Linked DNA regions of Homo sapiens: all the other regions are linked to region 1. Evidence: promoter capture Hi-C in 16 types of primary human blood cells and fetal thymus (Javierre and others, 2016). All regions are on one chromosome and are shown on one strand. Each heading gives the region's core, a stretch centred on a gene start or on the middle of the fragment in contact. The rest is flanking DNA. Distances are from core to core; before and after follow the strand shown.

Region 1 (3,978 bases), core at 809-3,308:
GCTACTTATCTCTCTTAAGAGGACTTCATTAGTGCCTGCTCGGCCATACAGTTTTTTACTTACCAAGTAACACAGTTATCAGCACACTCCAGGTACTAGCCAAGGACTACAAAATCAACGTGAATGTCAGCTTTTGTATCAAAAGCTCAAAGGAGAAACTCAAACTTTACATAGATGTCCCATGAAGATGTTCAGCAAACCCATTCTTCTCTGTTCCCTGGAATCCATCCCAGTATTGTGCTATGTGTGTGTCTAGTAATTCTTTACAAAAAGCTCTGTTTCTTGTGATGCTATCAGATCACATTGAAGAATATACAAGCCGTACTATGAAGGCTGTTGTCTCATATAGTCCTAACGTAGTGAGAACTGATGTTCTTACATGCTGTCTTTTTGGGCACTCAAAGAAATTCCTGTACAGTCTTACAAATCAGTTGTAGCTTAAATTGATTTGTGTTGTGACTTGTACACACAGGTCACATTCCCTTGACAGAAAATATAGTTTAAAACCAAATTTGCAGCCCTTGTTAAGTGAATGCACAGGACTTTATTGTATTCAGGTCTTTTATTGTAAGACTCACTCCTGTCTTCATTTTATGTTCCACTGTTGTGCTTCCCATTTGCCTTTCTCTAGTTTTGTTTTCTGTGTTTCTACGGACTGCTCTCAGCCCAGGTGTGCAGGAAGCACACACATGCCTGCAGAGCCTTCATGGCCTCTGCATTCAGGGCATGACTTCAACGCACAGTGGCTGTACTGATTTGTTAAAACAAAGGAACAGATTACTTCTCCTAATTCACAGGGAAGTTCCAGGTTGTGCGGGCAGTGAGCAGACCTGTGTCTGTCTGCGCTTGCCCTGGTGAAAAACCCCACCGTTCAGGCTGCAGGGTGCGAGACCCAGGCACAAACATTTTGCTGGATGAGGAGGAAAGATGTAAGGTTGCTCCCCTTCAGAGACAGCAAAGGGCAGGTCTGTAGCTTCACTTACTTCAGGATTGTGATTTTTGACAGAGCCGAGAGATCAGGGTTGTTGAACCAGGCCTGAAGGTCCTAGTGAATCTCGTGAAGAGAGGAGGGGTCTGGCTGTAACATGGACCTAGAGGACATTTTTACTGCAGGAGAAGGAACAGTGGGGATGGGGTGGACTTGCCAAAGGAATATAGCTCAAGTTCCTGCAGCCCAAAAAAGCTCAGTTTCTTTTGGCCAAAGCTTCCGCGAGTTTCCCTGGCATTTCTCCTGCGGGAGCTACAGGGGCAGTGGGACACTTAGCCTCTCTAAAAGCACCTCCACGGCTGTTTGTGTCAAGCCTTTATTCCAAGAGCTTCACTTTTGCGAAGTAATGTGCTTCACACATTGGCTTCAAAGTACCCATGGCTGGTTGCAATAAACATTAAGGAGGCCTGTCTCTGCACCCGGAGTTGGGTGCCCTCATTTCAGATGATTTCGAGGGTGCTTGACAAGATCTGAAGGACCCTCGGACTTTAGAGCACCACCTCGGACGCCTGGCACCCCTGCCGCGCGGGCACGGCGACCTCCTCAGCTGCCAGGCCAGCCTCTGATCCCCGAGAGGGTCCCGTAGTGCTGCAGGGGAGGTGGGGACCCGAATAAAGGAGCAGTTTCCCCGTCGGTGCCATTATCCGACGCTGGCTCTAAGGCTCGGCCAGTCTGTCTAAAGCTGGTACAAGTTTGCTTTGTAAAACAAAAGAAGGGAAAGGGGGAAGGGGACCCTGGCACAGATTTGGCTCGACCTGGACATAGGCTGGGCCTGCAAGTCCGCGGGGACCGGGTCCAGAGGGGCAGTGCTGGGAACGCCCCTCTCGGAAATTAACTCCTCAGGGCACCCGCTCCCCTCCCATGCGCCGCCCCACTCCCGCCGGAGACTAGGTCCCGCGGGGGCCACCGCTGTCCACCGCCTCCGGCGGCCGCTGGCCTTGGGTCCCCGCTGCTGGTTCTCCTCCCTCCTCCTCGCATTCTCCTCCTCCTCTGCTCCTCCCGATCCCTCCTCCGCCGCCTGGTCCCTCCTCCTCCCGCCCTGCCTCCCCGCGCCTCGGCCCGCGCGAGCTAGACGTCCGGGCAGCCCCCGGCGCAGCGCGGCCGCAGCAGCCTCCGCCCCCCGCACGGTGTGAGCGCCCGACGCGGCCGAGGCGGCCGGAGTCCCGAGCTAGCCCCGGCGGCCGCCGCCGCCCAGACCGGACGACAGGCCACCTCGTCGGCGTCCGCCCGAGTCCCCGCCTCGCCGCCAACGCCACAACCACCGCGCACGGCCCCCTGACTCCGTCCAGTATTGATCGGGAGAGCCGGAGCGAGCTCTTCGGGGAGCAGCGATGCGACCCTCCGGGACGGCCGGGGCAGCGCTCCTGGCGCTGCTGGCTGCGCTCTGCCCGGCGAGTCGGGCTCTGGAGGAAAAGAAAGGTAAGGGCGTGTCTCGCCGGCTCCCGCGCCGCCCCCGGATCGCGCCCCGGACCCCGCAGCCCGCCCAACCGCGCACCGGCGCACCGGCTCGGCGCCCGCGCCCCCGCCCGTCCTTTCCTGTTTCCTTGAGATCAGCTGCGCCGCCGACCGGGACCGCGGGAGGAACGGGACGTTTCGTTCTTCGGCCGGGAGAGTCTGGGGCGGGCGGAGGAGGAGACGCGTGGGACACCGGGCTGCAGGCCAGGCGGGGAACGGCCGCCGGGACCTCCGGCGCCCCGAACCGCTCCCAACTTTCTTCCCTCACTTTCCCCGCCCAGCTGCGCAGGATCGGCGTCAGTGGGCGAAAGCCGGGTGCTGGTGGGCGCCTGGGGCCGGGGTCCCGCACGTGCGCCCCGCGCTGTCTTCCCAGGGCGCGACGGGGTCCTGGCGCGCACCCGAGGGGCGGGCGCTGCCCACCCGCCGAGACTGCACTGTTTAGGGAAGCTGAGGAAGGAACCCAAAAATACAGCCTCCCCTCGGACCCCGCGGGACAGGCGGCTTTCTGAGAGGACCTCCCCGCCTCCGCCCTCCGCGCAGGTCTCAAACTGAAGCCGGCGCCCGCCAGCCTGGCCCCGGCCCCTCTCCAGGTCCCCGCGATCCTCGTTCCCCAGTGTGGAGTCGCAGCCTCGACCTGGGAGCTGGGAGAACTCGTCTACCACCACCTGCGGCTCCCGGGGAGGGGTGGTGCTGGCGGCGGTTAGTTTCCTCGTTGGCAAAAGGCAGGTGGGGTCCGACCCGCCCCTTGGGCGCAGACCCCGGCCGCTCGCCTCGCCCGGTGCGCCCTCGTCTTGCCTATCCAAGAGTGCCCCCCACCTCCCGGGGACCCCAGCTCCCTCCTGGGCGCCCGCGCCGAAAGCCCCAGGCTCTCCTTCGATGGCCGCCTCGCGGAGACGTCCGGGTCTGCTCCACCTGCAGCCCTTCGGTCGCGCCTGGGCTTCGCGGTGGAGCGGGACGCGGCTGTCCGGCCACTGCAGGGGGGGATCGCGGGACTCTTGAGCGGAAGCCCCGGAAGCAGAGCTCATCCTGGCCAACACCATGGTGTTTCAAAATGGGGCTCACAGCAAACTTCTCCTCAAAACCCGGAGACTTTCTTTCTTGGATGTCTCTTTTTGCTGTTTGAAGAATTTGAGCCAACCAAAATATTAAACCTGTCTTACACACACACACACACACACACACACACACACACCGGATTGCTGTCCCTGGTTCAAGTGTGCCAAGTGTGCAGACAGAACATGAGCGAGTCTGGCTTCGTGACTACCGACCATAAACCCACTTGACAGGGGAAACATGCCTTGGAAGGTTTAATTGCACAATTCCAACCTTGAGCTGCGCGGGTTCCAAGAGCCAGGCCCGTACTTGCTGTTGATGTCATTGGCTTGGGGAGTTGGGGTTTGGTGCCCAGCGCGGTCGTTGGGGGAGGGGCAAGGCATAGAACAGTGGTTCCCAGACCTTGCTGCACATTGGAATTACCTGGGATTAAAAAAAAAAAAATCAAAACAAAAACCAGTGTCTGGCTCCCGCCCCCAGAC
Region 2 (3,978 bases), core at 548-3,047, 250 kb before region 1:
ACAGACAGAAATGGAAGCAAGTGAGGAAAATACATATAGATGCTTTTGAACCAAGTTTCCTAACTCCCAGGACAGACATTTTTTCCCCCATTTTATCTGTATGCTTTTCTGCCATCCCTTACTGGCCCCTGGATGGTTACTTTCTGTTTTTAGAAATGGGAAATTAATACCTAGTCCTCAGGTTAGTTCAGTTCAGTCTAAGAATTGAGTATCAATGAAGGACATAATTTATTCACTGTACAAAAGACCACCCAGCTACAATGCCCAGCTTCATCAGTTATAACTGGGATTAATTAAGTGGATTTTCATATCTCCTCCCTTTTTATTGTTCATAAAGCTTCCCACCTAAGACTGATAGTGCTGTCAACAGCTCTGTTGAGGCCAGGCACAGTGGCTCAGTTATCCCTGTTATCTCAGTGCTGTGGGAGGCCGAGGCAGGAGGATCAATTGAGGCCAGGAGTTTGAGACCAGCCTGGGCAACATAGTGAGACCCTGTCTCTACAAATAAAAATAAAACCTAGCAGGGCATGGTGACATGCTCCTGTGTCCTAGCTACTGAGGAGGTTGAAGTGGGAGGATCTCTCGGGCCCAGGAGTTGAAGGCTATAGTGAACTATGATTCTAGCCTGGGTGACAGAGCAAGGCCCTGTCTCTCTGTTAAAAAACAAAAACAAACAGAAAACAGCTCTGTCCAAGGGGTTGGGAGATCCTCGATGAAGGAAGAGAAGATAATTGGTTGGGTCTGGAGTATACAAGGACTTCAGGTTCTAGCCATGGCGGAGAAACTGGAGCAAGACCTGCACTCCCAATACCAAAAATGAGAAAACTGGACAAAATATGGGAAACAACTCTTTCAGACACTGGGAAACAGGAAATACAAGACTATGATTCATAAGGGGAGGGTAAAAAAATAAAGTGAGTCTACCCCCTCAGAATTCTGCTTGAAAGGCAGTTTTCAAACCAAAGCCACAAGGTAAGGGGAAAAGATTATATGCAGAGAATGGTAATTATTACTGACCAGGAAGATAGAGATGGGTGGAATTTCTAGGGCATACTAGCATAGAGGAGGGTGCTAAATGGAAAAAGAGCTCTAGAAATCTGCAAAGAGCTCCCATTGCATCTATTGAGGAAAACCAATAGTGCCTATGTAAGATGCAACACCATGAGGCTGGGCTAACAATGACCAGGAGCTGTAAGATGAACAATTCGCAGAGGACACAAGGGCTGGGAGACTATGAGTTCTAACCAGCCAGGTGGAGAGTCCTCCTTGACTGTATGGGACATTTAGTGGAAACCTCAGGAGGGTGGCATCTTAGTAACAGGGCTAAATTTGCCATAGTGTAAAGATTTATACAAAAAAAGGAAGGAAAAAATTAAAGCTACACACTTGAAATTAAAAATTATGTTTGACATCCACTGAAAATTACAAAACATGCAAGAAAGCAGAAAAATGTAGACTTGTAACCAGGAGAAAAATCAGTCAACAGAGGCAGATGCAGAGATAGCAGAGAGGAAAGACTTAAGTGAGTGACTTTAAAAATCATTTGTAAAAATAAGCCCAAGGATTTAAAGAAAATTAAACATAATGAAAAAATCAATAGAAAATGTTTTAACAAGAACCAAACAGAACTTCTAGAGCTGAAAAACATATCTAGAATGAAAAATATCCACTATAGGTGTAACATCCAATGAGAACTTCAGAAGAAAAGATCAGTAAATTTGAACACAGCAATAGAAACTATGATAGTAGAAGCACAGAGAGAAAAGGAGATTGAAAATGAGCCCAACATTGGTGAACTGTGGGCAGAAATATATTGGCAAATTTTAACAAATACCTTTATGGAGAAAAAAGCCTCAATCCATAGCATTGGCCAATTTTCATGATGTAAATATTCCCACTCTGGCTGATTTCAAGGTGCCAATGTGACATCAATGAATACAAAATTTTCCAAATTTGACTAATTATAAACTGACGTATCCAATAAGCTCAAAAAACCTAAATAAAAGACATAGTAGAAAAAGATAATCTTAAAAAGCCAAATTTTAAAAAGTACACATATATACAGAGGACTAAAGATAAAACCAAGAGCAGATATATCATAGGAAGCAATTAAGGGCAGAATCACCTCTTTAAACCACTAGTTGGGGTGGGGAGTGAGAGGAGGGAGTATGAACCTCAAATTCCATATCCATTGGGAATGTTCTTCAAAACCAAGGAATTATACTTTCTTCATCAGAAAGCTAGAAAAAATGAGAATATTAACACCAAAGTAAGTAGAAAGAAGCAAAAAGTAAAGATAGACTTTTAATAAAACAAGGGTCAGCAAATCACAACTTTTCAGGCAAAAATATGGCTTCACACTGTTTTTGTGAATATTTGCATTTGAAAATAGTCCCACTCATTCATTTACTTATTGTTGTCTAGTGCTGCCTTACAAATCATATGGCCAGCAAACCTAAAATATGTATTAGTTATTTACAGAAAAATTCGCTACCCCTAGAAACAGACAACAGAGATAAATCAATACAACTAAAAGGATTCTTCAAAAAATCAATCTCGATAAATCTATTGCTAAACTGATCAGAAAAAAAATAGAAATTTCCAATATTAGGGATGAAAGAAAAGACAGTGCTACCAGTCCTACAAACATTAAATGGGTAATAACAGTACAAACAAATTTATGCCATTAAATTTGATAACTTAGAATCAATGAAAAAAGTGTACAACAAAAATTGTTGCTAGAAAATCTGAATAGCTCTATATGTATTAAAGAAATTGAATTCATAATTTCCTTCTTACAGCAAAACTCCCAGGCCCAAATGTCTTCACTGGTGAATTTTATCAAACATTTAAAAAAGCAATAGTAATTGTAATAAAACATAACCTCTCTCAGAATATAAAAAGAACCCTTTCCAACTCAATTTTTGAAGCCAGCATCATGCTGATACCAAAACCAGACAAATACAGAAAACTTTACACCAATATTCTTCATGAATCTAGATGCAAAAATCTTTAACAAGATATTAACAAATAGAATCCATCTATGTATAAAAAGGACAATATATTACAATCAGGTGGAACATTTCTTAGAAGTGCCAGGTTGTCTTAATATTTGAAAAACCAAGGCAACTCCTCACATTAATAGGAGGGGAAAATGTTTTTTTCTCCCTTAGGACTAGAAGAAAAAGTGCACTTGACAAAATTTAGCCACATTTATTACAAAAACTTTCATCAAAGCAGGAATAAAAAGAAACTCTCAAGCTTATAGAGGGCACTTTTAAAAATGTGCAGCTAACATCATACCTAATGGCAAAAGACTGAACTTATTTTCTCTAAGAACAGGAGCTAAGAACAGGAACAGAGCTGATGCTGGTACAATTATATATCTGTATGGAAAAAAAAAAAAACTTTAGTATTTCCAACATATGATACACAAAAGTTAACATGAAAAAGATCATGGATGAAAATGCAAAAAGTAAAACTATAAAACTTCTAGGAAAAATGTAGGAGAAAATTTTTGTGATCTCAATGTAGGCAAACATTTTTGAGGTAATAAATCTATAATTTTTTTTTTTTTTTTTTGAGACGGAGTCTCACTCAGTCACCCAGGCTGAAGTGCAGTGGCGCGATCTCGGCTCACTGCAAGCTCCACCTCTCGGGTTCACCCCATTCTCCTGCCTCAGCCTCCCAGGGAGCTGGGACTACAGGCGCCCGCTACCACGCACGGCTAACTTTTTGTATTTTTTTTAGTAGAGACAGGGTTTCACCGTGCTAGCCAGGATGGTCTCAATCTCCTGACCTCATGATCCGCCCGCTTCAGCCTCCCAAAGTGCTGGGATTATAGGCGTGAGCCACTGCGCCCGGCCCACAAATCTGTAACTTTAAAAAATGATAAATTAGACTATCAAAATTTAAAATGTTTGCTCCCCAAAGGATACTATTAATAATATAAAAAGGCAGGTCACAAACTAGGAAAAA
Region 3 (3,978 bases), core at 675-3,174, 250 kb after region 1:
AACAAATTTAAGAAGACAGAAATCATATTAAGTATCTTTTCTGACCATAATGGTATGAGAGTAAAAATCAAGAACAAATGGAAAACCAGAACATTCATTAATAGATGGAAATTAAACACACCCCTGAACAATCAATGGGTCAAATACAAAATTTAAAGGGAAATTAAAAATATTTTGAGACAAAGGAAAATGAAAACACAACATAACCAAAATTTATGGGACGCAGCAAAAAACAGTTCTAAGACAGATGTTTGTAGCAATGAATGTCTACATCAGAAAAGAAAAATCTCAAATAAACAACCTAAGGTTGCATCCCAAGAAACTAGGAAAAGAAGAAAAAACTAAGTCCAAACTTGGCAGAAGGAAAAAATAACAAAGATCAGAACAGAAATTAGTGAAATAAAGACTAGAACAACAATAGAAAAGATCAATTAAAATAAGAGTTACTTTTTTGAAAACATAAAATTGACAAACCCTTAGGCTAACTAAGAAAAAAGAGAAAAGACTCAAATAAATAAAATTATAAATGAGAAAGGAGACATTACAATGCATACCACAGAAATAAAAAAGATTGTAAGAGACTGCTATTAAAAACTGTACTTCAACAAATTGGATAACTTAGAAGAAATGGACCCACTGCTAGAAATGTAACAGCCTACCAAGACTAAATCATGAAGAAACAGAGAAATCTTAACAGACTAATGATAAGTCAGAAAATTGAATCAGTAATCAAAACCCTTCCATCAAAGAAAAGCCCTAAACCAGATGGCTTCATGGGTGAATTATACCAAACAGTTAAAGAAAAATTAACACCAATCCTTCTCCAACTATTCCAAAAAAACCGAAGAAGACAGAATACATCTAAACTAATTTTACAAGCCCAGCATTACCCCAATACCAAGGCCACCCAAGGACACTATAAGAAAAGAAAATTACAGGCCAATATTCCTGATGAACATAGATGCAAAAACCCTCAACAAAATGCTAGCAAACAGAATTTTATAGTACACACATGTACCATGATCAAGTGAGTTTCACCCCAGGGATGCAAAGATGGTTCAACATACACAGATCAATAAATGTCACACACCACATTAATAGAATAAGGGATAAAAAGTACATGATTATCTCTATAGATACAGAGAAAATATTTGACAAAATTCAGTATGTTTTCTTTTTTTTTTTTTTCTTGAAATGGAGTCTTGCTCTGTTAGCCAGGCTAGAGTGCAGTGGCGCAATCTCGGTTCACTGCAACCTCCATCTCCCAGGTTGAAGCGATTCTCTTGCCTCAGCCTCCCTAGTAGCTGGGATTACAGGAATGTGCCACCACATTTGGCTAATTTTTGTATTTTTAGAATAGACGGGGTTTTACCATGTTGGCCAGGCTGGTCTCGAACTCCTGAACTCAAGTGATCCATCCACCTTGGGATTACAGGTGTGAGCCACCGTGCCTGGCTCAATATCTTTTCATGATAAAAAATGCTCAGCAAATTAGATATAGAAGGAACGCATCTCAATATAATAAAAACCATATATGGGAAACCCACAACTAACATCATACTCAAGGGTGAAAAGCTGAAAGCTTTTTCTCTTAGATCAGGAGCAAACAAGGAAACCCACTCTCACCACTTCTGTTCCATATAGCACTGGATGTCCTAGCCAGAATAATTAGGCTAAATAAATGAATAAATAAAAGGCATTCAAATCAGAAATGAAGGAGTAAAATTTTCTCCATTTGATGTCATGATCTTATATACAGAAAATCCTAACTACTCCACCAAAAAAAATTGTTAGAACTAATAAACAAGTTCAGTAAAGTTACAGGATACAAAATCAACATACAAAATTTAGTAAGGTTTCTAATACCAATCACAAACTGTCTAAAAAGAAAGCAAGAAAAAAAATCCCATTTACAATAGCTACCAAAAAATAAAATACTTAAGAAAAATTTCACCAAGGAAGGAGGTGAAAGAGCTGTACACTAAAGACTATAAAACACTGGTGAGAGAAATGAAAGAAAACACAAATCAGTGGGGAGGTATTTCATGTTCATGAATTGTTAGAATTAGCATTGTCAAAATGTAGTATCCAAGGTGATTTACAATACAATTCCTATCAAAATTCAAATTGCATTTTTCAAAGAAATAGATAATCCTAAAATTTGCATGGAGCTAAATAAAAGATAATAAAAGATGCTAAATAGCCAAAATAATCTTGAGCAAAAATAACAGAGCTAGAAACATATACCTGATTTCAAAATATACTACAAAGCTTTGGAAATCGAAACAACATGATGGTCACTTAAAAACAGAGATATAGACTAATTGGCCAGGCAAGGTGGCCCACACCTGTAATCCCAGCACTTTGGAAGGCCGAGGCGGGTGGATCGCTTGAGGTCAGGAGTTTGAGACCAGCCTGGCCAACATAGCAAAACCCCGCCTTTACTAAAAATACAAAAATTAGCCAGGCTGTGGCAGGCGCCTGTAATCCCAGCTACCTGGGAGGCTGAGGCAGGAGAATCGCTTGAACCTGTTGCAGTTCAACAGGTTGTTGCAGTGAGCAGAGATGCACTCCAGTGACGCACTGCACTCCAGCCTGGGCAACAGAGCAAGACTCCGTCTCAAAACAAAAGGAAAAAAAAGAAAGAAATACAGACCAATGGAACAGAGCAGAGAGTCCAGAAGAAAATCCATGCATTCACAGCTGATTGATCTTCAACAAATGTGTCCAGAACACACAATGGGAAAAGAACTGTCTCTTCAATAAATGCTGTTGGGAAAACTGGATGTCCACATGCAGAAGAATGAAATTAGACCCTTATGTCACACCAAATACAAAAATAAACTCAAAATGAATTAAAGTCTTAAATGCAATACTTGAAACTGTAAAAGTCTTAGAAGAAAACATAGGAAAAAGCTTCTTGACATCAGTCTGGACAATGACTTTTTTGATATGATGGCAAAAGCACAAGCAACAAAAGCAAACATAGACAAATGGGATTGCATCCAACTAAAAAGCTTCCGCATAGCAAAGGAAACAAACAACAGAGCGAAGAGACAACCTGTGAAATGGGAGGAAAATATTTGCAAACCATACAGCTGATAAGGGGTTAACATCCAAAATATACAAGGAACACAAATCAATAGCAAGAAAACACGTAACCTGATCTAAAAACAAGCAAAGGATCTGAACAGACTTTTCTCAAAAGAAGCCATTAGGCGTGTTTACCCATTGGCTCAGAAATCTGCCTTGGACTAGAATAAAAGAACTGCAGGAAAATAATTGAGAAAAATACTGTTTATCTTTACGTACAGATTTTCTCCATGATTTTGTTTTTATGTAAGCAAGTTGTATAACCTTGTGAAAATTACTTGACCTCTGTTGGCTTTTGTTTCTTTATCTGAGAAAGTAAGAAGCTGAAGAAGATGATTCAGAGTCTGAAGGCTGCTTTCCAATCCCAGTTTCCCATGGGTCACACCAGGGTGTGTGCAAGGCCCTTTACCTCCCTGAAGGGACCACTGTCATCATAGCCATGCAGATACTGACAACCTCGAATATTTGAATCAAATGAGATGAATGTAAACATCCTTTAAAAATTGAAAGGCAGTCCAGGCACGGGGGCTCATGCCTGTAATCCCAGCACTTTGGGAGGCTGAAGCGGGCAGATCACTTGAGGTCAGGAGTTCAAGACCAGCCTGGCCAACGTGGCGAAACCCCGTCTCTATTAAAAATATAAAAAATAGCCAGGCATGCTGGTGCACCTGTAGTTACAGCTACTCGGGAGGCTGAGGCATGAGAATCACTTGAACCTGGGAGGCAGAGGTTGCAGTGAGCCAAGATTGCACCACTGCACTCCAGCCTGGGCAGCAGAGTGAAACTCTGTCAAAAAAAAAAAAAAAAAATTGAAAGGCAATGTACAAATGATGTCAGCTTCACCTGACTCTACAAAGTCCCTTCCAGGCAGAATTTCTTCATTCA
Region 4 (3,978 bases), core at 754-3,253, 220 kb before region 1:
AAATTAGCTGGGCGTGGTGGCATGTACCTGTAATCCCAGCTACTCGGGAGACTGAGTCAGGAGAATCACTTGAACCTTGGAGGCAGAGGTTGCAGTGAGCCAAGATCGCACACCATCGCACTCCAGCCTGGGCAACAAGAGTGAAACTCCATCTCAAAAAAAAAAAAAAAAATCCAAGTATGCTACCAGCACACACAGGGTCCTCCCTCTCCAGTCTGCCATTGCCAGCTGTGCCTTGCACGTCATGATCCAGCAACACCGAACTGCCCATAGTCCCCACACTCACTGTGCCATTTCTGAACACCTTACAATTTTTTATCCTCCCTCTCTGGCCAAATCCTATTTTGACAACAAAAATATCATTTTCCTCAGGACACCCTTCCGAATTCTATAGACCACATGAGGTTCCCCTCTGCATTTCCATGATGCTTTTTGTTAATGAACTTTTAAGAGTTCCTTTTGCTGGGTGCAGTGTCTCACGCCTGTAATCCCAGCACTTTGGGAGGCTGAGGTAGGCGGATCATAAGGTCAGCAGATCAAGACCAGCCTGACCAACATGGTGAAAGCCCGTCTCTACTAAAAATACAAAAATTAGCCAGGTGTGGTGGTGCGTGCCTGTAATCCCAGCTACTCAGGAGGCTGAGACAGGAGAATCGCTTGAATCCAGGAGGCGGAGGTTGTAGTGGGCCGAGATCGCGCCACTGCACTCCAGCCTGGGCGACAGAGCGAGACTCTGTCTCAAAAAACAAAAACAAACAAAAAAAGAGTTCCTATTATGTTTCATCTGAATGAATTAGACTTAGTACACAGTTGATTTTCTCCACATCTGATGACTAGCTGACACTGAACATCAGTAAGCTAGCCTTCCGACATGAGAACTTCATGTGCATTCGGTAACTCCGCATTTCATGTGATCATTACCTGCATTACTCACATGAAATCTCACTGACCTGGATTGTAACAACCTTTCCACATGTCTTCCTCAGCAGTCCCTCAGTCCCTCGAGAGTGGTAAATATGTCTAATTGATTTACATATTCTAATATCTGACAGTGTGACTGTTTCAAAACAGTTGCTCCATAATTGTTGAATTAATGAAATACTAACTCTCCTCCATTTCAGCGTAGTATCCTTCTGTCTTTATGACAAGGATTGCTAATTTCAAGCTTTTAGCCCAGTTGTTTGGTAGTCAAGGAATATATAAAACTGTTTCCTCATGGAACAAAAATAGTAATATCCACAAAACCCCATTTTTCCATCCACCTCCTGTATATAAATAAACCTAAGATCATTAAAAGGGATGTCATGACTTGAGAGGTCTCCACCTGAAACTGGGACTTGACTTTGGTTTTATTGGCTCTGCTAGGCTGTGGGCTGAATATAAAACCATGCCTAGTCCTTTGAATACACTTATTATTTCTTTACAAATGCAATTTGTAGTGGACTTCCTGAAAATGTTTCAGAACAGGATATAGCATCTTATTTTTTTTAACTTTTTCTTTAAAATATTCAAGGAAATCTAAAAAGCAGAGAGAGAAAACTCAGCGCAGCTCTGGCAGCAAAGATCAGAACCATCAGAGGCCAGCGTTAGGGAAGGTTATGGTAAGAGGCAGCACTTGCAGTCAAAGTCAGATTCTTCATCAGACGCAGTGCAACGCCGACCCAAGCAGCTCCTGGCTGGCACGGGGCCATGCTCCAGGCTGGGTCTTCTCCAGTCCTTTCGTTCACACCTGCACTTGTACGTTTTGCTTCAGTTTATTACTCTGTCTTTCCTTTGCACCTAAACAAAACAACTACTTTCCCCACCCGCCCCCGCCCCCCTCAACCCCGAGTAAGTTTGGACCATTCTCTCAGACATTTCTTGGTATGTAGAAATTTCTGCCTGGAATAAAGTTACTTGAATGACGACGTTAACCCTTCTTGGATTTGCCCTTGGATCGTAATTCAAGGACCCTGTGCCCCTCACTAAGTCTCAGATGCATCTCTCTTGTTTAGATAATTATTGTACATCTTCTTCTGGGTCTTCAGGCCTGGCATTCTTCTTGACATTCTGACGTCTGCAAATCTATCTCATTCACTCCCTTATGTTATCGACTGCAACTTTCTTCAGAGCACTGGCTTTTTGATGCCCGAGTCAATTAGATCAGGATAATTTGTGAGATAAATGGAAAATTCCTACACGTGCTCTTGTGTCAATATTTTCTCTCCATGAAAAATCACACTTTGCTCCTTAGCCGCTTGGGTTGTTACCTTAGCACAGTATGACTGAGTCAGGAGAGCATATTTCTGTTTTTCACTGATTCAAATCTAAGCTGAGGAGCTACCCGCTAGGCTGGCACCTTCCCTCACTACCTACCTGGGCCTTCCCCTGCATTTGGTGGGTGCACTCCTGAGCGGCTTGCTGAGTCAGAACTAGTTGGAAGATGACTAGGACTTCCAACAAGGTTGCTGACAAGTTTCTCTTCTAATACATGTGAGCAATTTCCTGGCCTGCTTTTTTTTGCTGCCTCTCCACTAGATGTTCTTTGAAAGCATGGTAACCAGTCATGGAAAGGTTTTCTGACATACAGGAGACCAAACGTTGGCTAGCTAATTCTTAGGCTGAAATTATTACTGTAATTTGAAATAATAATTATAAAAACATGCAGGATGTGAATCTTTAATAATCCAACCAAATTCAGAGACCGAAACATGTTACCAGGCAGCTTGTAAAAATGTTCCTGGTACAGTATGCTGTTGCATTCTGGATAGCGTCTCTTACCCCTCTGAGCAGTGCAATCACCCTGTAATAATTCTCCACCTTTTACACTCTTCTGCCTGGAAGGTGGCATAGTGGTGTAAATAAGCTTTCTGAATTTAAACAACAACAACCCTGATTTGCGGCATTTGCTGACTTTTGTTGTGTAAAGATTCCTGCCATAGCTGATTTCAAGCTATAAACAGTTTAGCAGCTTCCTCATAGAATTGCTGTGCATTTAACAATTGGTGCTCTGAGCCCCCAGGAGCTGCCTCCAGGATAACCCTGGGTGTGGAGCCCAACCTGAGACACCCATCGCCTCTCTTACGCCCAACTGAGGGTTTGCCAAGGTCCATGTGAGAGGTGAGGCCAGCTGGACTTCCTGGGTCCAGTGGGGACTTGGGGAACTTTCCTGTCTTACAAGAGGATTGTAAAACGCACCAATCAGCACTCTGTAAAACACTAATCAGTGCTCTGTAAAACACACCAATTGGCGCTCTGTCAAATGCACGAATCAGCAGGATTCTAAACGTAGCCAATTGTGGGGAGGATTGAAAAAAGGGCACTCTGATAGGACAGAAACGGGACATGGGTGGGCATAATAAAGGAATAAAAGCTGGCCATCCCAGCCAGCAGCAGCAACCTGCTCAGGTACGCTTCCACGTTGCAGAAGCTTTGTCCTTTCGTTCTTCACAGTAAACCTTGCTACCCCTCAGTTCTTGGGTCTGTGCCATCTTTAAGAGCTGTAACACTCACCATGAAGGTCTGCGGCTTCATTCTTTGAAGTCAGTGAGACCATGAACCCACCAGCAGGAACCAGCTCCGGACACACATGGTCTCTTCAGAAACAAAGTGGTCTCAGCAATGAACGTTTCCAGCGAACTCCCTATATAATTTGAATGTAACAATATATCACAACATAAACAGGCTTTCCAATTTATGCAATAGGCTTTACGTTTTCTGTATTTTTGTCTGCATGTATAGAATTGACAAAGCCTATATTTTCCACATAGGAAAATATACAACGAAGAGTTATTTTGTTTTTGTATCAGTGTTGCGTGGAATATTCCACTTCAGTTAAAACAGCTGTTGTTTGGGCAGAGTATCAACGTGTGGCACACACAAGCTAAACAACCCAGTAGAGACTGCATTCTTCAAGAGGAGCTGCTTACCTGGCAATGCCCGCTGGGAGCTTCCCTAACTGGAGGTCCCCTCGCTGGGAGCATCCTGCCAGTGCAGACA
Region 5 (3,978 bases), core at 482-2,981, 200 kb after region 1:
GCATGATCTCAGCTCACTGCAACCTCCGCCTCCTGGGTTCAAGCGATTCTCCTGCCTCAGCCTCCAGAGTAGCTGGGACTATAGGCACCAGCCACCACACCCAGCTAATTTTTGCTTTTTTAGTTGAGACGGGGTTTCACCATGTTGGTCAGGATGGTCTCAATCTCTTGACCGTGTGATTCACCCACTTCGGCCTCCCAAAGTGCTGGGATTACAGGCGTGAGCCCCTGCGCCCAGCTTGAGTCCTGTTTCCTGAAGTGAGATACTGATCCAAGTCTCAGCCATGATGGGTCAACGTTTCAATACAACACATTTTAAATCCTAAGAAACAAATAATATTTTTAAATGTATTGCTTACAGGAACCAGCAACAGAAAGAGTTGCAATGTGCTTTTATTTTTTTTTTTTTTTTTAATTTATTTTTTTATTGATAATTCTTGGGTGTTTCTCACAGAGGGGGATTTGGCAGGGTCATGGGACAATAGTGGAGGGAAGGTCAGCAGATAAACAAGTGAACAAAGGTCTCTGGTTTTCCTAGGCAGAGGACCCTGCGGCCTTCCGCAGTGTTTGTGTCCCTGATTACTTGAGATTAGGGATTGGTGATGACTCTTAACGAGCATGCTGCCTTCAAGCATCTGTTTAACAAAGCACATCTTGCACCGCCCTTAATCCATTTAACCCTGAGTGGACACAGCACATGTTTCAGAGAGCACAGGGTTGGGGGTAAGGTCACAGATCAACAGGATCCCAAGGCAGAGGAATTTTTCTTAGTGCAGAACAAAATGAAAAGTCTCCCATGTCTACTTCTTTCTACACAGACACGGCAACCATCCGATTTCTCAATCTTTTCCCCACCTTTCCCGCCTTTCTATTCCACAAAGCCGCCATTGTCATCCTGGCCCGTTCTCAATGAGCTGTTGGGCACACCTCCCAGACGGGGTGGTGGCCGGGCAGAGGGGCTCCTCACTTCCCAGTAGGGGCGGCCGGGCAGAGGCGCCCCTCACCTCCCGGACGGGGCGGCTGGCCGGGCAGGGGGGCTGACCCCCCCCACCTCCCTCCCGGACGGGGCGGCTGGCCGGGCGGGGGGCTGACCCCCCCACCTCCCTCGCGGACGGGGCGGCTGGCCGGGCAGAGGGGCTCCTCACTTCCCAGTAGGGGCGGCCGGGCAGAGGCGCCCCTCACCTCCCGGACGGGGCGGCTGGCCGGGCAGGGGGGCTGACCCCCCCCACCTCCCTCCCGGACGGGGCGGCTGGCCGGGCGGGGGGCTGACCCCCCCACCTCCCTCGCGGACGGGGCAGCTGGCCGGGCAGAGGGGCTCCTCACTTCCCAGTAGGGGCGGCCGGGCAGAGGCGCCCCTCACCTCCCAGACGGGGCGGCTGGCCGGGCGGAGGGCTGACCCCCCCACCTCCCTCCCGGACGGGGCGGCTGGCCGGGCAGAGGGGCTCCTCACTTCCCAGTAGGGGCGGCCGGGCAGAGGCGCCCCTCACCTCCCGGACCGGGCGGCTGGCCGGGCGGGGGGCTGACCCCCCCACCTCCCTCCCGGATGGCACGGCTGGCCGGGCGGGGGGCTGACCCCCCACCTCCCTCCCGGTTGGGGCGGCTGGCCGGGCGGGGGGCTGACCCCCCCTCACCTCCCTCCCGGACGGGGTGGCTGCCGGGCGGAGATGCTCCTCACTTCCCAGATGGGGTGGCTGCTGGGCGGAGAGGCTCCTCACTTCTCAGACGGGGCAGCTGCCGGGCGGGGGGGCTCCTCACTTCTCAGACGGGGTGGTTGCCAGGCAGAGGGTCTCCTCACTTCTCAGACGGGGCGGCCGGGCAGAGACGCTCCTCACCTCCCAGACGGGGTCTCGGCCGGGCAGAGGCGCTCCTCACATCCCAGATGGGGCGGTGGGGCAGAGGCGCTCCCCACATCTCAGACGATGGGCGGCCGGGCAGAGACGCTCCTCACTTCCTAGATGTGATGGCGGCTGGGAAGAGGCGCTCCTCACTTCCTAGATGGGATGGCGGCCGGGCGGAGACGCTCCTCACTTCCCAGACTGGGCGGCCGGGCAGAGGGGCTCCTCACATCCCAGACGATGGGCGGCCAGGCAGAGACACTCCTCACTTCCCAGACGGGGTGGCGGCCGGGCAGAGGCTGCAATCTCGGCACTTTGGGAGGCCAAGGCAGGCGGCTGGGAGGTGGAGGTTGTAGTGAGCCGAGATCACGCCACTGCACTCCAGCCTGGGCACCATTGAGCACTGAGTGAACGAGACTCCGTCTGCAATCCCGGCACCTCGGGAGGCCGAGGTTGGCGGATCACTCGCGGTTAGGGGCTGGAGACCGGCCCGGCCAACACAGCGAAACCCCGTCTCCACCAAAACCAGTCAGGCGTGGCGGCGCGTGCCTGCAATCGCAGGCACTCGGCAGGCTGAGGCAGGAGAATCAGGCAGGGAGGTTGCAGTGAGCCGAGATGGCAGCAGTACAGTCCAGCTTCGGCTCCGCATGAGAGGGAGACCGTGGGGAGAGGGAGACGGAGACGGAGACGGAGAGGGAGGGGGAGGGGGAGGGGGAGGGAGAGGGAGAGGGAGAGGGAGAGGGAGAGGGAGAGGGAGAGGGAGAGGGAGAGGGAGAGGGAGAGGGAGAGGGAGAGGGAGAGGGAGAGGGAGAGGGAGAGGGAGAGGGAGAGGGAGAGGGAGAGGGAGAGGCTAATTGGCAACTCTGCAATGTGCTTTTAAAAGGGAGTTGAAGCAGCAGGGTGTTGGGTGTTCTCAGTCCCACAAGAGAATTTATCCCTGATGCATGCAGGAATCTACTGAAAATAATTAATACCTTCTCTCCTACCCTTCTAGAATTGTGCTAGTTATGCATCATCCTTGGGGGAATAGAGACAACGGTCACCTATTTGTTTTTTGTAGGGCTTAGTTCTCTCCTGGGACCTTAGTTGAGAAAGGCCCACTAGCATTCCAGAATAAAAGATGATTTCAAACTTCATCTACTACCTTAACCAAAAGAAAGACATATAATAATTTAGTAAAGTTCTAATTGAACAGTGAAAGAATTACAACTAAGGAAATAATAAGTGATTATATAGAGAGAGAGGGAGAGTTTTAATATAGACAAGACACTGTCCTGAGTGTACATCTAAGACAGAAATTATTATTTCCACTTTACAGATGAAGAAACATTTAAAGTGCAATATTACACTGCTATTTTGGACACAGTAGCATAGATCTACTACATCAGTGTTTTACCTTCCTAAGAAATTCAATAGGGAAAAGTCAGGTCAACCTTGCTGGGGACCAATGCCTCCACAGCTGGATATTTCCTGGAGATCAGCTACCACACTGCCTGGACACCAACCCCAAACTAAAACCAGTCAGCTCTGGGGTAGACCAGGACCCAGGGCTCCCTGAGAGCGATCAGACCCACAGTCTTATGCCAGCATGCGCTGAAGACGCTTAGCCCACCGCAGCACACATTTACTGGCCTACTCTGTGCCAAGTCAGGTGTTTAGCACTGCGGAAATACCTAGGCCAGTGCTCCAAAAGAAACCTTTACACCCGCAGATGTGCACACATGCACCTGCGCACACACAGACACACACACACGAAATTTGGCGAGGAGCCCTGGGCAGAGATAACCCTACCCTCACCTGACAGAGGAGGATTCTGGCAACTGGTGACCACCAGGCTGAGCTCCTGCAACCTGGTAAACTGTCAAAGTATTGGGTAAAATGTATGTGAATATTTTTGAATCTTAGGAAGGGGAGGTGATCCTAATGCATAACACGAAACTCCAAAGGCATAAAGAGAAAGATTGATAAGAAGACTGTTTGATGTTTTTTAATTTTTAAAGAAAAGAATAATTAACCACAGAAGAAAACAAAGTGGGAGGAGAGGCTGACTCTTTCCATGTTAAAGAACGAATCAAAAACTCAGCATGGGCTCTAAAACAGCATTGTTCATTATAAAAAGTACAGACATAACACAGAAGATAAAG
Region 6 (3,978 bases), core at 732-3,231, 180 kb after region 1:
CCGAGCTCCCAGGGCTGTCTGTGGCTCGTGGCTGGGACAGGCAGCAATGGAGTCCTTCTCTCCCTTCACTGGCTCGGTTTCTCTTAGGGACCCTCACAGCACTAAGGGGTGCGCGTCCCCTGTCAGGCCCTCGAATGCCCTCCCACAGCCAGGCCCCTCTGAGGTTTCACTCTGGCCTGCTTGGCTCCTAGCAGCCACCAACCCATGATGCTGGGCCCTGAAAACACACGCAGACCTGGATGAGTGAGGCCACTGGGCACAACCAGGGCTCCCAGCTCACCAGAGCAGCCTGGGACACAGAGGGTGCTCAGAAACCTACCAGAGCAGCCCTGAACTCCGTCAGACTGAAATCCCCTGTTGCCGGGAGGAGGCGCCGGGCCTGGGGGACGGGTCCTGGGGTGATCTGGCTCGTCTGTGTGTGTCACTCGTAATTAGGTCCAGAGTGAGTTAACTTTTTCCAACAGAGGGAAACTAATAGTTGTCTCACTGCCTCATCTCTCACCATCCCAAGGTGCCTATCAAGTGGATGGCATTGGAATCAATTTTACACAGAATCTATACCCACCAGAGTGATGTCTGGAGCTACGGTGAGTCATAATCCTGATGCTAATGAGTTTGTACTGAGGCCAAGCTGGCTTTTATTGTTAGTTAATTTACATTATATCCTCTGACATGCAAGTATTTTCTTTCGAGATAATGACTAATGATAATGTAATCATTGCTGTCTATCTATTGTACTGAGAAAACACGGCAGAGGAAATCGAGTCCAGCTGCCGTCCAAAAGTCACTGGAGATTGCAATGAGCTCGTCTGGCAGGGTGGGGGGTATGGGAGGGAAAGAGCTTAGGAAACGGCTCTCCCTGCAAAGTCCAACCAAACTTTAACGTTAACCAAACCATTAATGTTGCCATGAATTTGAAGTGAACCAGAGGGAGGTGGCAGAAGAAGCTTAATGGGGAATAGTTCCGGTAGAGAAATGAGGCTTAAGATGAACTACCCTGGCCCTTATGTGTCAGAGAGAACGGCTTGACAAACACACACTGAGGATGTCTGCAGGGATAAAAGAAGAAAGGGAGATGACCCTTGCTTCTCGCTCTCGGGAGGACCATCTGGTCCGGCCCTGGGGATTCTCTGTTTCCTCTTCTGAATCCCAGTGTTGCCCAGCACTGGCCTGTACCCATCCTCACGAGGGCCGCTCTCCTCACCCGGCCCTAGGTCCCTGCCCTGTCCTGAGCCTACAGGGGCCTCCCATGTTGAGAAAGTGTTGCTGACACATTGTCTCTGACCGCTGTGCCAGGCATTTTCTGCTGAATTACCGCACTTGGTCCTTGAATTTCACCCAGCAACTTACTGAAAGGCTGGAACCCATGAACCTACCCCTTCACTGAGGAAAATAAGTTACCCCAGCCATCTACAGCGACAGGAGCAAGGGAGGAGTCGCCTCACCTCTCTAGAAATGTGTATTTGAGGAGAACACTATTGAAATGAATTTCCAAGAATAATCTAGTCAGTATTACAAAAGCAAAATTATTTGGGATATCGTCCTTTTTTACTTAGTATTTTTTCTTTTTCCTATAGCATTATTAACTTTCTGATTTTCCAAATACATACACATTTTTAAATTTCCTGAGTCTTTATCTCTTCTGTTAAAATGTAAGATTTATGATACAAAGGCAGAGATTTGTGTCCATGAATAAGTGAAGTTTGGTGTGCACCTGTGAGCTGAGCCACCTCAATTAATGGAACAGATAAGGAAATAAAGGTCTGCTGATGCATTGTTATTTACAGCCATTTTCAGAATGTATCTCCTCTCCACGAGGGAACTGCAGGGTCCTGCCCCAAGCCATTTATTTTGTCCTCAAGCAGCCCGCCCCTCCCACTCCAGGCACAGCCCGGTCTCCTGCTGGTCTCCCCTCTTCCCACTTGCTCCCCCTCATCTATGCTCCAGACAGAGGCCACATATATTTTTTAACTTTTTTTTTTTTTTTTTTGAGACAGAGTCTTGCCCTGTCACCCAGGCTGGAGTGCAGTGGTGCAGTCTCGGCTCACTGCAACCTCCACCTCCCGGGTTCAAGTGATTCTCCTGCCTCAGCCTCCTGAGTAGCTGGGATTACAGGCGCACACCACCATGCCCAGCTAATTTTTTGTATCTCTAGTTGAGACAGGGTTTCACTATGTTGGCCAGGCTGGTCTCGAACTCCTGACCTCATGATCTGCCCGCCTCGGCCTCCCAAAGTGCATATTTTTTAACTTTATCAGACTTTTCATTCTCTGCTCAACATCTTTCTTTGGTCCTCCAGGTATGTTCAGATAAAACCTGAGCACCTGGCCATGACTGATGGGTTGCTGGGCCATCTGGCCCTGGCAACTCTCCCGTCCACCAGGTCCCCCTCCCGTCACGCTCCAGGCATAGCCTGTGTGTGCCAGCGCAATGCCCACACTCCATGCACAAGTGGAAGCCCTCTCAAAGTCAGTGGCTTAGTGCCTTGATGTGGTCACACCCATTCTCAGGAAGTCCGTTCCCACTGAAAACATTGTGTGTTTTCAACATCATTGAGGCTGCCACGGCAGATTATAATCACTGGCCTAGGCAGCCCACTGGAACTACCAGACCATGAGCCTGAATTTTTTGTTTAAAAATCATATCCTGTTTTCTCTACTCTCTAGTCTCTAGTCAAGGTGAATTATTCAATTTAATAAATTAGGGGCCTAGTGTGTTGTACCAAGGAGCTAAAAAGAGAGAACTCGCAACACCTTCCAGCCCATTCTCCACCTAACACTGGCTATACTGGCTCTCCTCTCTCTCGCTGTTTGTTCCAAAATCTAATAACCTGTCTTCCCACTAGAATTCATCATACATGTTTAAAAACCTAGTTAAATAGTAGTTAAACTGACTGCATAGATCTGGAAATGAGACAGTCTTTCTTTTACAAATCCATATAGACTATGAGTTGGGGGCAGGGGATGACACAAGAATCTATTTTCTTGCCCCCAAACCATTGCTTTCCTTCCAATGTTAAGCTTGTATTCTGTGTATTAATTCAGGTGGTTCCGTTTGGGAATGGCCTCTGTTACCCAGAGATGGGAGGGCCATCAGAACTCGGGGTTGTCTGAAAAAACACTGGTTCTAAAATTATCACTGCTTTCACTTGTTTTTAACCATCATAGTTGTTTGATTTTGAAGGAAAAACATGAGGGTTTTTATTCTATGCTTGTTATATCTATATTGTGGTTTCGTATTTTTTAGATTTTAGTACCTGACATTTTTTTAACTTTTATTTTAGGTTCAGGGGTACATGTGCAGGTTTGTTATATAGGTAAATTTGTGTCATGGGGGTTTGTTACACAGATTATTTTATCACCCAGGGATTAAGCCTAGTACCCATTAGTTATTTTTCCTGATCCTCTCCCTCCTCCCATCCTCCACCGTCCTATAGACCCCAGTGTGTGTTGTTCCCCTCTAAGTGTCCATGTGTTCTCATCATTTAGCTCCCACTTATAAGTAAGAACATGCGGTATTTGATTTTCTGTTCCTGCATTAGTTTGCTAGGGATGATGGCCTCTAGCTCCATCCATGTTCTTGCAAAGTACATGATCTCATTCTCTTTTGTGGCTGCCTAGTGTTCCATGGTGTATATGTACCACATTTTCTTTATCCAGTCTGTCATTGATGGGCATTTAGGTTGATTCCATGTCTTTGCTATTGTAAATAGTGCTGCAGTGAAAATACGCATGCATATGTCTTTATGGTAGAATGATTTATATTCCTTTGAGTAATGGGATTGCCGGGTCAAATGGTAGTTCTGTTTTTAGCTATCTGAGAAATTGCCACACTCTTTTCCACAATAATTGAACTAATTTACATTCCCACCAACAGTGTAAAAGCATTCCTTTTTCTCCACAACCTCACCAGCATGTGTTGGGATTTTTTTTTTTTTTTACTTTTCAATAATAGCCATCTGACTGGTATGAGATGGTA

The links. Contacts are between HindIII fragments. The CHiCAGO score rates a contact against its expected background, and 5 or more counts as called.
Region 2: a contact is called between a fragment that was not itself captured here and the fragment with the promoter of EGFR in region 1, in 1 of 17 cell types (endothelial precursors). The highest score is 5.2, in endothelial precursors.
Region 3: a contact is called between a fragment that was not itself captured here and the fragment with the promoter of EGFR in region 1, in 1 of 17 cell types (endothelial precursors). The highest score is 5.0, in endothelial precursors.
Region 4: a contact is called between a fragment that was not itself captured here and the fragment with the promoter of EGFR in region 1, in 1 of 17 cell types (endothelial precursors). The highest score is 6.9, in endothelial precursors.
Region 5: a contact is called between a fragment that was not itself captured here and the fragment with the promoter of EGFR in region 1, in 1 of 17 cell types (endothelial precursors). The highest score is 8.0, in endothelial precursors.
Region 6: a fragment that was not itself captured here is called in contact with the fragment with the promoter of EGFR in region 1 in 1 of 17 cell types (endothelial precursors); the score reaches 6.4 in endothelial precursors.

Annotation. Positions count from the first base shown.
Region 1 is chr7:55,016,959-55,020,936 of GRCh38, forward strand. EGFR (epidermal growth factor receptor) reads left to right here and starts at 2,059. Exons shown (of 28, transcript NM_005228.5): 1 at 2,059-2,407. The coding sequence starts at 2,320. It overlaps LOC105375284 (a long non-coding RNA gene), which reads right to left and starts at 1,964. Exons shown (of 4, transcript XR_007060329.1): 1 at 1-1,964. RefSeq lists an enhancer at 3,059-3,733. The HindIII fragment of the contact is 3,906 bases long and covers 1,203-3,978 here.
Region 2 is chr7:54,768,523-54,772,500 of GRCh38, forward strand. The region is part of intron 1 of SEC61G-DT (SEC61G divergent transcript); the gene reads left to right. Among named protein-coding and RNA genes, the nearest start is that of SEC61G-DT, 11 kb to the left of the region's middle. The HindIII fragment of the contact is 2,924 bases long and covers 336-3,259 here.
Region 3 is chr7:55,262,981-55,266,958 of GRCh38, forward strand. No RefSeq gene overlaps it. Among named protein-coding and RNA genes, the nearest start is that of ELDR, 9.3 kb to the left of the region's middle. The HindIII fragment of the contact is 689 bases long and covers 1,581-2,269 here.
Region 4 is chr7:54,800,641-54,804,618 of GRCh38, forward strand. All of the region lies in intron 2 of SEC61G-DT (SEC61G divergent transcript), which reads left to right. Among named protein-coding and RNA genes, the nearest start is that of SEC61G-DT, 43 kb to the left of the region's middle. The HindIII fragment of the contact is 1,680 bases long and covers 1,164-2,843 here.
Region 5 is chr7:55,218,671-55,222,648 of GRCh38, forward strand. No RefSeq gene overlaps it. Among named protein-coding and RNA genes, the nearest start is that of EGFR-AS1, 32 kb to the left of the region's middle. The HindIII fragment of the contact is 5,489 bases long and covers 1-3,978 here.
Region 6 is chr7:55,192,255-55,196,232 of GRCh38, forward strand. It overlaps EGFR (epidermal growth factor receptor), which reads left to right. Exons shown (of 28, transcript NM_005228.5): 22 at 512-587. Among named protein-coding and RNA genes, the nearest start is that of EGFR-AS1, 5.3 kb to the left of the region's middle. RefSeq lists an enhancer at 1-715. The HindIII fragment of the contact is 2,073 bases long and covers 946-3,018 here.